3 separate regions of the Homo sapiens genome follow, and all the other regions are linked to region 3. The links are contacts of gene promoters, found by promoter capture Hi-C in blood cells and fetal thymus (Javierre and others, 2016). All regions are on one chromosome and are shown on one strand. Each heading gives the region's core, a stretch centred on a gene start or on the middle of the fragment in contact. The rest is flanking DNA. Distances are from core to core; before and after follow the strand shown.

The links. Contacts are between HindIII fragments. The CHiCAGO score rates a contact against its expected background, and 5 or more counts as called.
Region 1: a fragment that was not itself captured here is called in contact with the fragment with the promoter of MAN1B1 in region 3 in 1 of 17 cell types (activated CD4 T cells); the score reaches 6.6 in activated CD4 T cells.
Region 2: a contact is called between a fragment that was not itself captured here and the fragment with the promoter of MAN1B1 in region 3, in 5 of 17 cell types (naive CD8 T cells, non-activated CD4 T cells, total CD4 T cells and 2 more). The highest score is 7.6, in naive CD8 T cells.

What each region holds. Positions count from the first base shown.
Region 1 is chr9:136,754,215-136,757,041 of GRCh38, forward strand. LCN8 (lipocalin 8) reads right to left here. Exons shown (of 7, transcript NM_178469.4): 2 at 2,824-2,827; 3 at 2,308-2,378; 4 at 1,198-1,302; 5 at 1,030-1,119; 6 at 921-946; 7 at 172-295. The coding sequence ends at 284. Among named protein-coding and RNA genes, the nearest start is that of LCN8, 2.6 kb to the right of the region's middle. The HindIII fragment of the contact is 243 bases long and covers 1,191-1,433 here.
Region 2 is chr9:136,809,571-136,812,357 of GRCh38, forward strand. All of the region lies in intron 1 of RABL6 (RAB, member RAS oncogene family like 6), which reads left to right. It also overlaps the pseudogene LOC100422233. Among named protein-coding and RNA genes, the nearest start is that of CCDC183-AS1, 2.1 kb to the left of the region's middle. The HindIII fragment of the contact is 3,825 bases long and covers 1-2,787 here.
Region 3 is chr9:137,085,566-137,088,414 of GRCh38, forward strand. It overlaps MAN1B1 (mannosidase alpha class 1B member 1), which reads left to right and starts at 1,420. Exons shown (of 13, transcript NM_016219.5): 1 at 1,420-1,653; 2 at 2,510-2,618. The coding sequence starts at 1,435. It overlaps MAN1B1-DT (MAN1B1 divergent transcript), which reads right to left and starts at 1,252. Exons shown (of 1, transcript NR_027447.1): 1 at 1-1,252. RefSeq lists silencers at 774-1,003, 1,554-1,783 and an enhancer at 1,344-1,573. The HindIII fragment of the contact is 12,458 bases long and covers 1-2,849 here.

The DNA of each region.
Region 1 (2,827 bases), core at 62-2,561, 330 kb before region 3:
TGACCACGACCCTAGCAGGGCGGGAGGGCAGGGGTTGCTGCCTTGCACGTGAGCTGCACTGTTTGTCCAGTAACCACGGAAAACACACCTCCTGTTGCCAGACCTGGGGCGGGTGAGTCCCCCCACACCTGTCACCCATCGGCCCTCCGGAAGGACACACCAGGCAGTGGCTTGACTTCACAGTTTATTCAGAGCAGGTGCAGGTGACCTGGTGGGCAGGGTGCCCAGGAGGGGCAGGGGTGGGCGGGCGCTCCGAACCTTGTGGTCTGAGGCAGGAACTCCATTAAATCAGCTCCTGCGACACAGAAGTGCAGGGGCTCAGGCCCGTGTGGTCTCTGGAGGCCCCACGGGGCTTCGATGAGGGCCACACGGCGGGACTTCTGTCCTCGCTGCCTGGTTTTGCGCAAAGCACCCAGCTCCCTGAGCGCCTTCTCAATCTGCAAAATGGGGTAACAGGCCCAGCCTCTAGGGCCAAGACAAAGCGAGGTGAGGGAGACACTGGGTTCTCGCAGTGCCCAACATGGGAGCCCTGAGGCAGCGCCCGCAGGATCTGTGCCCCGCCGCCGACGGGACCTTCGGGGGCAGAAGCAGCCGGCAGTCCTGCACAGAACACCGAAGAAAAGGCGCCATTTCTGCTCCCCTGCCCCACCCAGCTCTGCACCCCGTGACCCCAGCCTCCCAGGGTCCCTGCCTGGCAGCCTAGGGTCACCACCCTGGAGGTTCCAGCTCTTTCCAAACCAGGAGACAGACTCATCTCTGGAGCTGCCCACCAGTGGTGTTTGGTGTCCTGTTCACAGGAAGGGGTGAGAAGGCCCAGCCCAGGGCCGGGAGGCGGAGCCACGGGGGCTCCTGACAGGGCCAGGGACTGGGCCAGGGGCCCGGGAACTTCAGCACAGGCCAGGGTCGGGGGTCAGGCTCACCTCCTTCAGGAGCTCGGCACACCGCCCTGCAGGATAGGCCAGCATGAGGAGCTGCAGAGTCAGCCCACAGGGCCCAGCCCAGCCTCCACCCCAAGGCCCCTGGGCTCACCAGGCCGGGCCGCCAGGTAGAGACCAGTGTCTGCTGTCAGCTCCCGAAACTTCCAGAACCCCAGCCGGTCCTTGTCCTCAAGGCTCCGAGCTGTGGGGCACAGGGGGGCTGGGCGGGCAGTCCCTGGGAGAGCAGCAGCTGGGCAGAGCCCCCCAGGGCCAAGCTTACTAAAGTACTTGAGGACGCGAAAGTTCCTGCCCCGCCACATCAGGGACACCCGCAGGATGGCGTAGCCCTCGTAGTCGGTGTCCAGCACGTGGATCTCTCTGTGGCCTTCAAGAGCCGGCCATGGCGTTGGGGGAGACGTCTGAGGGGGACGGACCTCGAAGGCCAGGGTCTGCAGGGTCTAACTCCATCCTGCCCCCACCCAGTCCCAGCACTTGAGTGGTTGGAGACACTACAGAAGCTTTTGAAGGATGATCCAGTGTGTTGGTGGGAGAATGGGAAGGTCTGGGGCATGAAATGTGCAGGGAACAGCATGGGGAACAGTGCAGGGAACCCTGCAGGGAACAGCATGGGGAACGGTGCAGGAAACAGCATGGGGAACAGTGCAGGGAACAGCATGGGGAACAGTGCAGGGAACAGTGCAGGGAATGCATGGGGAACGGCACAGAGAAAAGTGCAGGGAACAGCATGGGGAATAGTGCAGGGAGCAGTGCGGGGAACAGTGCAGGGAGCATTGCAGGGAACAGCATGGGGAACAGTGCAGGGAACAGTGCAGGGAATGCATGGGGAACGGCACAGAGAAAAGTGCAGGGAACAGCATGGGGAATAGTGCAGGAAACAGCATGGGGAACAGTGCAGGGAGCAGTGCGGGGAACAGTGCAGGGAGCATTGCAGGGAACAGCATGGGGAACAGTGCAGGGAACAGCATGGGGAACAGCGCAGGGAACAGCATGTGGAACAGCGCAGGGAACAGCATGAGGAACAGTGCAGGGAACAGCATGGGGAACAGCGCAGGGAACAGCATGGGGAACAGTGCAGGGAACAGTGCAGGGAACGCATGGGGAATGGCGCAGAGAAAAGTGCAGGGAACAGCATGGGGAATAGTGCAGGAAACAGCATGTGGAACAGTGCAGGGAGCAGTGCAGGGAACAACATGGGGAACAGCACAGGGAATAGTTCAGGGAACAGCATGGGGAACAGTGCAGGGAACAGCACAGAGAACAGTGCAGGGAACAGCATGGGGAACAGTGCAGGGAACAGCATGGGGAACAATAAGGCCTAGCTGTGTGCACAGCCGGGTTCCACCTGCCATCACAGGGCAACTGCACTTACCAGGAAAAGCGAATTTTCCCGTACTGTCTATTTCTGAGCCCACGATCTTCTCTATCTCACAGCTTCCTGAGCTGAAAGGCAGCAAAGTGCCCATCGGTAAAATGCTAGCCTGTGTCCCGCCTGCTGGGCTCCTTCCCGGAGTGGGGCTGTGTCTTTAGGAAGGGCACAGGCAGCACTGTGGAGTATCCCAGGCCTGGAGCAGGATGAGGCGGGGAATGTGCCAGGTGGGGCCTTCCCCTGGGGATTCTGTTCCCTCCAGCCAGTCACCTGTCCCACACCCCTTTTCCTTCCTTCTAAGTTCACGGGGCTTCATTAAAACACTATGCTTATATTTGGGATAAAATGCAGATCCAGGAGCCTGGGGGTCGAGGGCTCAGGCAGACGGGCACCGGGAGTGCTGGCCCACCAGCGGGACGGCACTCAGCCCAGACCCCACGCTGCAGCGGGTGCAGCAACCCACGCCCAGTCCCCGGCCATGCATGCCTCTTCCTCTCCAGCAGCCCCCAGGCCTCTTACCTGT
Region 2 (2,787 bases), core at 159-2,658, 280 kb before region 3:
TCGAGACCAGCCTGGCCAACATAGTGAAACACCGTCTCTACTAAAAATACGAAAAAAAAATTTAAAAGAAAGTTGATGTCCGAACCAAGGGCCGTATTGGCTTTTCTTATACTCTAGAACATACGACGACAAAGAAGATTTTGATGAAGTTCAAATTAGAGTCAGCGTGCTCATCAGAAAGAAAGCGCAGCCAACACGTTTAGGAACAGAAACGGATTATGTTGAAGACAAACAATCCATTGCGTTTGTGTTCAGTAACCCAAGCATCAAAGGAACTTGTGGCTGGGGAGAAGGCTTGACTATTTGAAATCTCAGGACTCCTCTGTCCAGGAGCTCCCAGACTCCCGTGGAGTGGAAGCCTGGGGGCTCGCTGAAGAAGTCACGTGACTGGAACGTGCTTAATGCTTGGCTGTCTGGTAAGGAAAATAAAGTGGTGCATTTTGAATAAAAATAAAAGCTGATTTTAAATGTGTTATAATTGAAACTTTATACATAGCTGGCATTCGGAGAAGAGAATATTGAGTCAAAATAACTGAGTTTACGCCAGTTTTTAGACTCTGCGTTTGGATCCTTTATTTAATTTTATTGCTTACAGTATTGGCTAAGCTCAGTATTAGTCCCTGGGAAATCAGGCCTGGACCTGGAAACTGTTCACCTTCTGAAAAGGCTCCCCGAGGGTCCTGGGCAAGGTCCACCTCATGCACCAGGACCACCCCTGTGTGGTCCTGGGCGAGTGTGACTAAAAAGGGCAATGGGGTCCTTCCAGAGGAGAAAAGCCAGTCTCCAGTACTTGGAGAACAGGTTATGATCTCCTAGAACTGAATGAAAGGTGGTGAGACAGAGAGAAATTTGAATTTGTACCTAAATTACATTTTAGAAAGATGTTATCTTTATAGCTGAATAACATGCAATTTTAAAACTTTTGAGTTTCTGTGTTAGAATAGAAAGTTTCTAGTATTTCTTTTCTTTTCTTTTCTTTTTTGAGACAGAGTTTTGCGTTTTGCTGTGTCTCCCAGGCTGGAGTGCAGTGGCGTGATCTCAGCTCACTGCAAGCTCCTCCTCCCGGGTTCACACCATTCTCCTGCTTCAGCCTCCCGAGTAGCTGGGACTATAGGCACCGGCCACCACGCCCGGCTAATTTTTTGTATTTTTAGTAGAGGCAGGATTTCACCGTGTTAGCCAGGATGGTCTCAATCTCCTGACCTCGTGATCTGCCCGCCTCAGCCTCTCAAAGTGCTGGGATTACAGGCGTAAGCCACCATGCCCGGCTTTCTGGTATTTATTTTCTCAAATATTTTACAGAGCGTAACAGACCAGCAATGTGATCAAGACAGAGTCGAGGGTTTTGGGGGTGAGAGTTTCTGGGAACTGCTGCGGGTTTCCAGGAGTCTGGGCTCTCCTCCTGGGCCCTGCATTTGCTCGGAGTTGCTAGTGGTCCCGGTAGACGTGTGGGACACCCACTGGTTTTAGAATAAAAACTCGAATGAGACATTGGACCATAATGGATGAAAAAGTCAAACTCTGTCAAATATTTGAAGAGATTTATTTTTGAGCTGAATATGAGTGACCATGGCTCGTGACATAGCCCTCAGGTGACCCTGAGGACATGTGCCCAAGGTGGAGGGCACAGCTTGGTTTTATACATTTTAGACATGAGACAGTAATCAAATACATTTAAGATATATGTTGATTTGGTCCACAAAGGCGGGACAACTTGAAGTGGGGGCTTCCAGGTCGGAGGTAGTTTAAAAAAATTGTGTTTTTTTGCCGGGCGCGGTGGCTCACGCCTGTAATCTCAGCACATTGAGAGGCCGAGGCAGGCGGACAACCTGAGGCCAGGAGTTCAAGACCAGCCTGGCCAACATGTCGAAACCCCGTCTCTACTAAAACTATAAAAATTAACCGGGTGTGATGGTGGGTGCCTGTAATCCCAGCTACTCAGGAGGCTGAGGCGGGAGAATCGCTTGAGCCCAAGTGGCAGAAGTTACAGTGAGCTGAGATTGTGCCACTGCACTCCAGCCTGGGTGACAGAGTCAGACCCTGTCTCAAAAAAAAAAAAAAAAACAATTGCACCACCACACCCAGCTAATTTTGGTATTTTTTAGAGAGACAGGGTTTCACCACGTTGCCCAGCTGGGCTCAGACCCCTCTACTCAAGCAGTCCGAACCCCTTGGCCTCCCAAAGTGCTGGGATTACAGGCGTGAGCCACCGCGCCTGGCCAGATTATGTTTCTTATCAGACTTAAAGTCAGTGTTGATGTTAAATGCTGGTGAGCTTTTCCTGAATTCCAGAAGGGAGGAGGCCACAATGAGGCCTGTCTGACTCCCCTCTTCCCATAATGGCCTGAACCAGTCTTTCAGATGAAATTTGGATGGCCCTGGCCTAGAAGAGGAAGTCCATTCAGATGGTTGGCAGGCCTTGGGATTTTAATTTTGGTTTACACAATTTTGAAATTATTTGCATATAAAATTATTAGGAAAATTATTTGAAATTATTTGGAAGAAAGATTGTTGCCTGAGTTGGTCTGTCCCTTTCTACTGTGACTGGACACAAAATATCAGTTGTATTTGGTGCAGAATTTTTCTGTGGAGTTGCTCCTGAGTGAGCATTATTGTGCAGCTCTGATACTGGCCTGGCCCAGGAGCTCGGACAACCAGAGTCCTCTCTGAGTAGACACTGGTGCGAATTTAGAAATGGGACTTAGCAGGCCGGGCACGGTGGCTCACACCTGTAATCCCAGCACTTTGGGAGGCTGAGGTGGGCGGATTACATGAGGTCAGGAGTTC
Region 3 (2,849 bases), core at 170-2,669:
GACGGGTGTCTCACCATGTTGGCCAGGCTAGTCTTGAACTCCTGACCTCAAGTGATCCACCTGCCTCGGCCTCCCAAAGTCCTGGGATTACAGAAGCCACCGCGCCTGGCCCCAAGGGGAATCTTTTAAAAAAGAGAAGTTCCCATAAACTGCTTTGAAACCATAAAGACCAAAGGTTAGAAGGGTTTGCCGCAGGCGCTCCGTTGCTAATGTTTTTGTGAGGGCTTCTTCAGGGCCTCTTGTTAGAGTGTGACATAAACGACTTCATTTGGGTACCAGCAAGTGTCACAGGGGGCAGAGACCAGCAGAAACCTAAAGATGACCCCTAGAAGAGCAGGAGGCCAGGGGAACAGAGTTAGACGAGCCACGTGCTAAGCAGGACGTCGCTGCCGGGGGAGCTCTCCAGACACGCAGAAATGCCACAGTCAGGACCGTGGGACGCAGCGGATTCGCCCAAGGGCAGGAGCAGCCTGGCCAGGAGAGAATGAAGGAGGGGCCGGGCGTGAGGTTCGGCTGGGGAGAACCCAGGCAGGGAGGGCCTCGGGCGGCCACGGACGCCGCTTTGCCATTTTGGGCGTTTCTGGGGAGGACAACGCGTGCAGGAAGCGCAGTCATCTCAAGCTGACCTCCAAGGTTACCGAGTTCGAGGGCTGGGAGCCGGGTCTGAAAGCCCCGACCCGCCTATGGCGCGGGGACTGTGGGTCCAGCCGGCCGATTGGCCGCCTCGCTCGGCGCCGGTCCAGGCGCAGCGCTCGGGCCCCGGGGACCGTGAGATGCGGCGCAGCCAGCTTAGCTCGGGGTAGCAGCCACCCCAGCCCGGGTGCCGCCCGGCCTGGTCCGCGACTTCGGGAGGGTCCGGTCCTTCCCCCGGCCCCCACGCCTGGGTGAGGCCCTGGGCTTCTTGCCGGTGACCACGCGGCCAGGGTGGGCACCAGCCCAGGACGGCGCCCAAGGGCAGCCCAGCTCCATCCCCGCGCCGCGGGTTCCGGAACCGAGGCGCGGGACGCTGGGACTCTCTGCCAACATGGCGGCCCCGCCCGGGCGCCTCCCCGGGTCCCTAGTGTCTGCGTCTCCCGTGAGGGCGTGGGCAAAGTCGGTGCAGCCAGACGACAGGAGGCGAGAGAAGCCCAGCTCCAGGCCCATGAGGCGAACCACGTGGGAGCCCCAGACAGCGACCACGCCCCAGGCGAACCAAGGCCCGCCCCGTTGCTACAGCTACGCTCGTAGCACACCTGGGCAGGCGCTGCCGGACGCATGCGCAATGAACCTGAGGGCAGGGCGGAGTCGCAGCAGTTGTCTGACGCAGTCGCCGTAGGACGCAGCCCCGTACGCTGGAGCGCAGCGGAGACAGGCGCGGGCGCACTGGCCGCATAGAGACGCAGCGCACGCGCAGTCGCGTATCCGTGTGATGGGCGGGCTGTTGACGGCGCTGCGATGGCTGCCTGCGAGGGCAGGAGAAGCGGAGCTCTCGGTTCCTCTCAGTCGGACTTCCTGACGCCGCCAGTGGGCGGGGCCCCTTGGGCCGTCGCCACCACTGTAGTCATGTACCCACCGCCGCCGCCGCCGCCTCATCGGGACTTCATCTCGGTGACGCTGAGCTTTGGCGAGAACTATGACAACAGCAAGAGTTGGCGGCGGCGCTCGTGCTGGAGGGTGAGGGTCGCGCCGGGCTGACTGGGGCCCGGGGCTGCCGTGCCCGCCGCCCTCCCAGACTGCGGCTCCGAGCGGGACCTGGGCGGGCGGACTCGACTCCCCAGGCGCCGCCCTCTCCACCCCTTCCCCGCAAAAAGGGGCAAATGTGCGTTCCTGGTTGGGGCAGCCGTGGGCGGCTCGCCTGCAGCGGTCTCAGCGGCCCAAATTCTGCGGGGCGGTGGTGGGAAGAGGGCTCAGAGCCCCAGCAGGTTTTCTGGGCTTCGTTCGCTTTTCTGCAAGGTCCTGGCCCAGGCGCCTGCCCCTCTTGGAGCGGAAACCGGAGGTTCCCCGTGGTGTATGCTCCCCTCGGTACAGTGAGAAATGAGCCCCTCTTGATTGGCTCCTGGTCTGTTCGTGGTGGTCTCAGGCCGAAGGGCATTGATAACCACATGCGGACTGTGCATCGCCTGGGCGGTGCCTGGGCTACATCTGTGGGAGTCGCAGGAGTCTTTCTCCACTGTTGATGAAATGTGACAGAAATGTTTCTGCTTTTTTCTTATCCTCGTCTCATCTGCACCACTGTATTAACGACATCTGTAGTATTGTCCCAGCAATGTTCCTACTCCCTGCTGAGAGGGAACTTCTCCCCATTCAAAATAAATAGAGCTGGCCGGGCACGGTGGCTCATCCCGCGTTCCACCCACTACACTCCAGCCTAGGTGTAACAGAATGAGACCCTGTTTCCAAAAAAAAAAAGAAATAGAGCTGAACACTGGATCTTCCAGAAGAATTCCTTATTGTCCTCACAGTTTGTGACAGTTGAGACGTTCCGTGTGATATATTCAGTAAGAAATGTCATTCTCTGTACCTCCCTTAGAAATGGAAGCAACTGTCGAGATTGCAGCGGAATATGATTCTCTTCCTCCTTGCCTTTCTGCTTTTCTGTGGACTCCTCTTCTACATCAACTTGGCTGACCATTGGAAAGGTATCAGAAACACGTGTACTTGAAAACGATATCTGTGTTGAGGGTTGATTGGGCAGAAGCAATCTTGCATTCTACCTTAAACAGCTCCAGGAGGCATATATGGCAACGAATTGGCAAGAAATCAAGATAAAGAGAAAGGTAGAGCTGTATGTAACCACCTGGCTAGAACACAGATGTTAATTTGATGCTGTCTGACTACTTTCTAGGTCTCTGGTGTAAGTACTGATATGT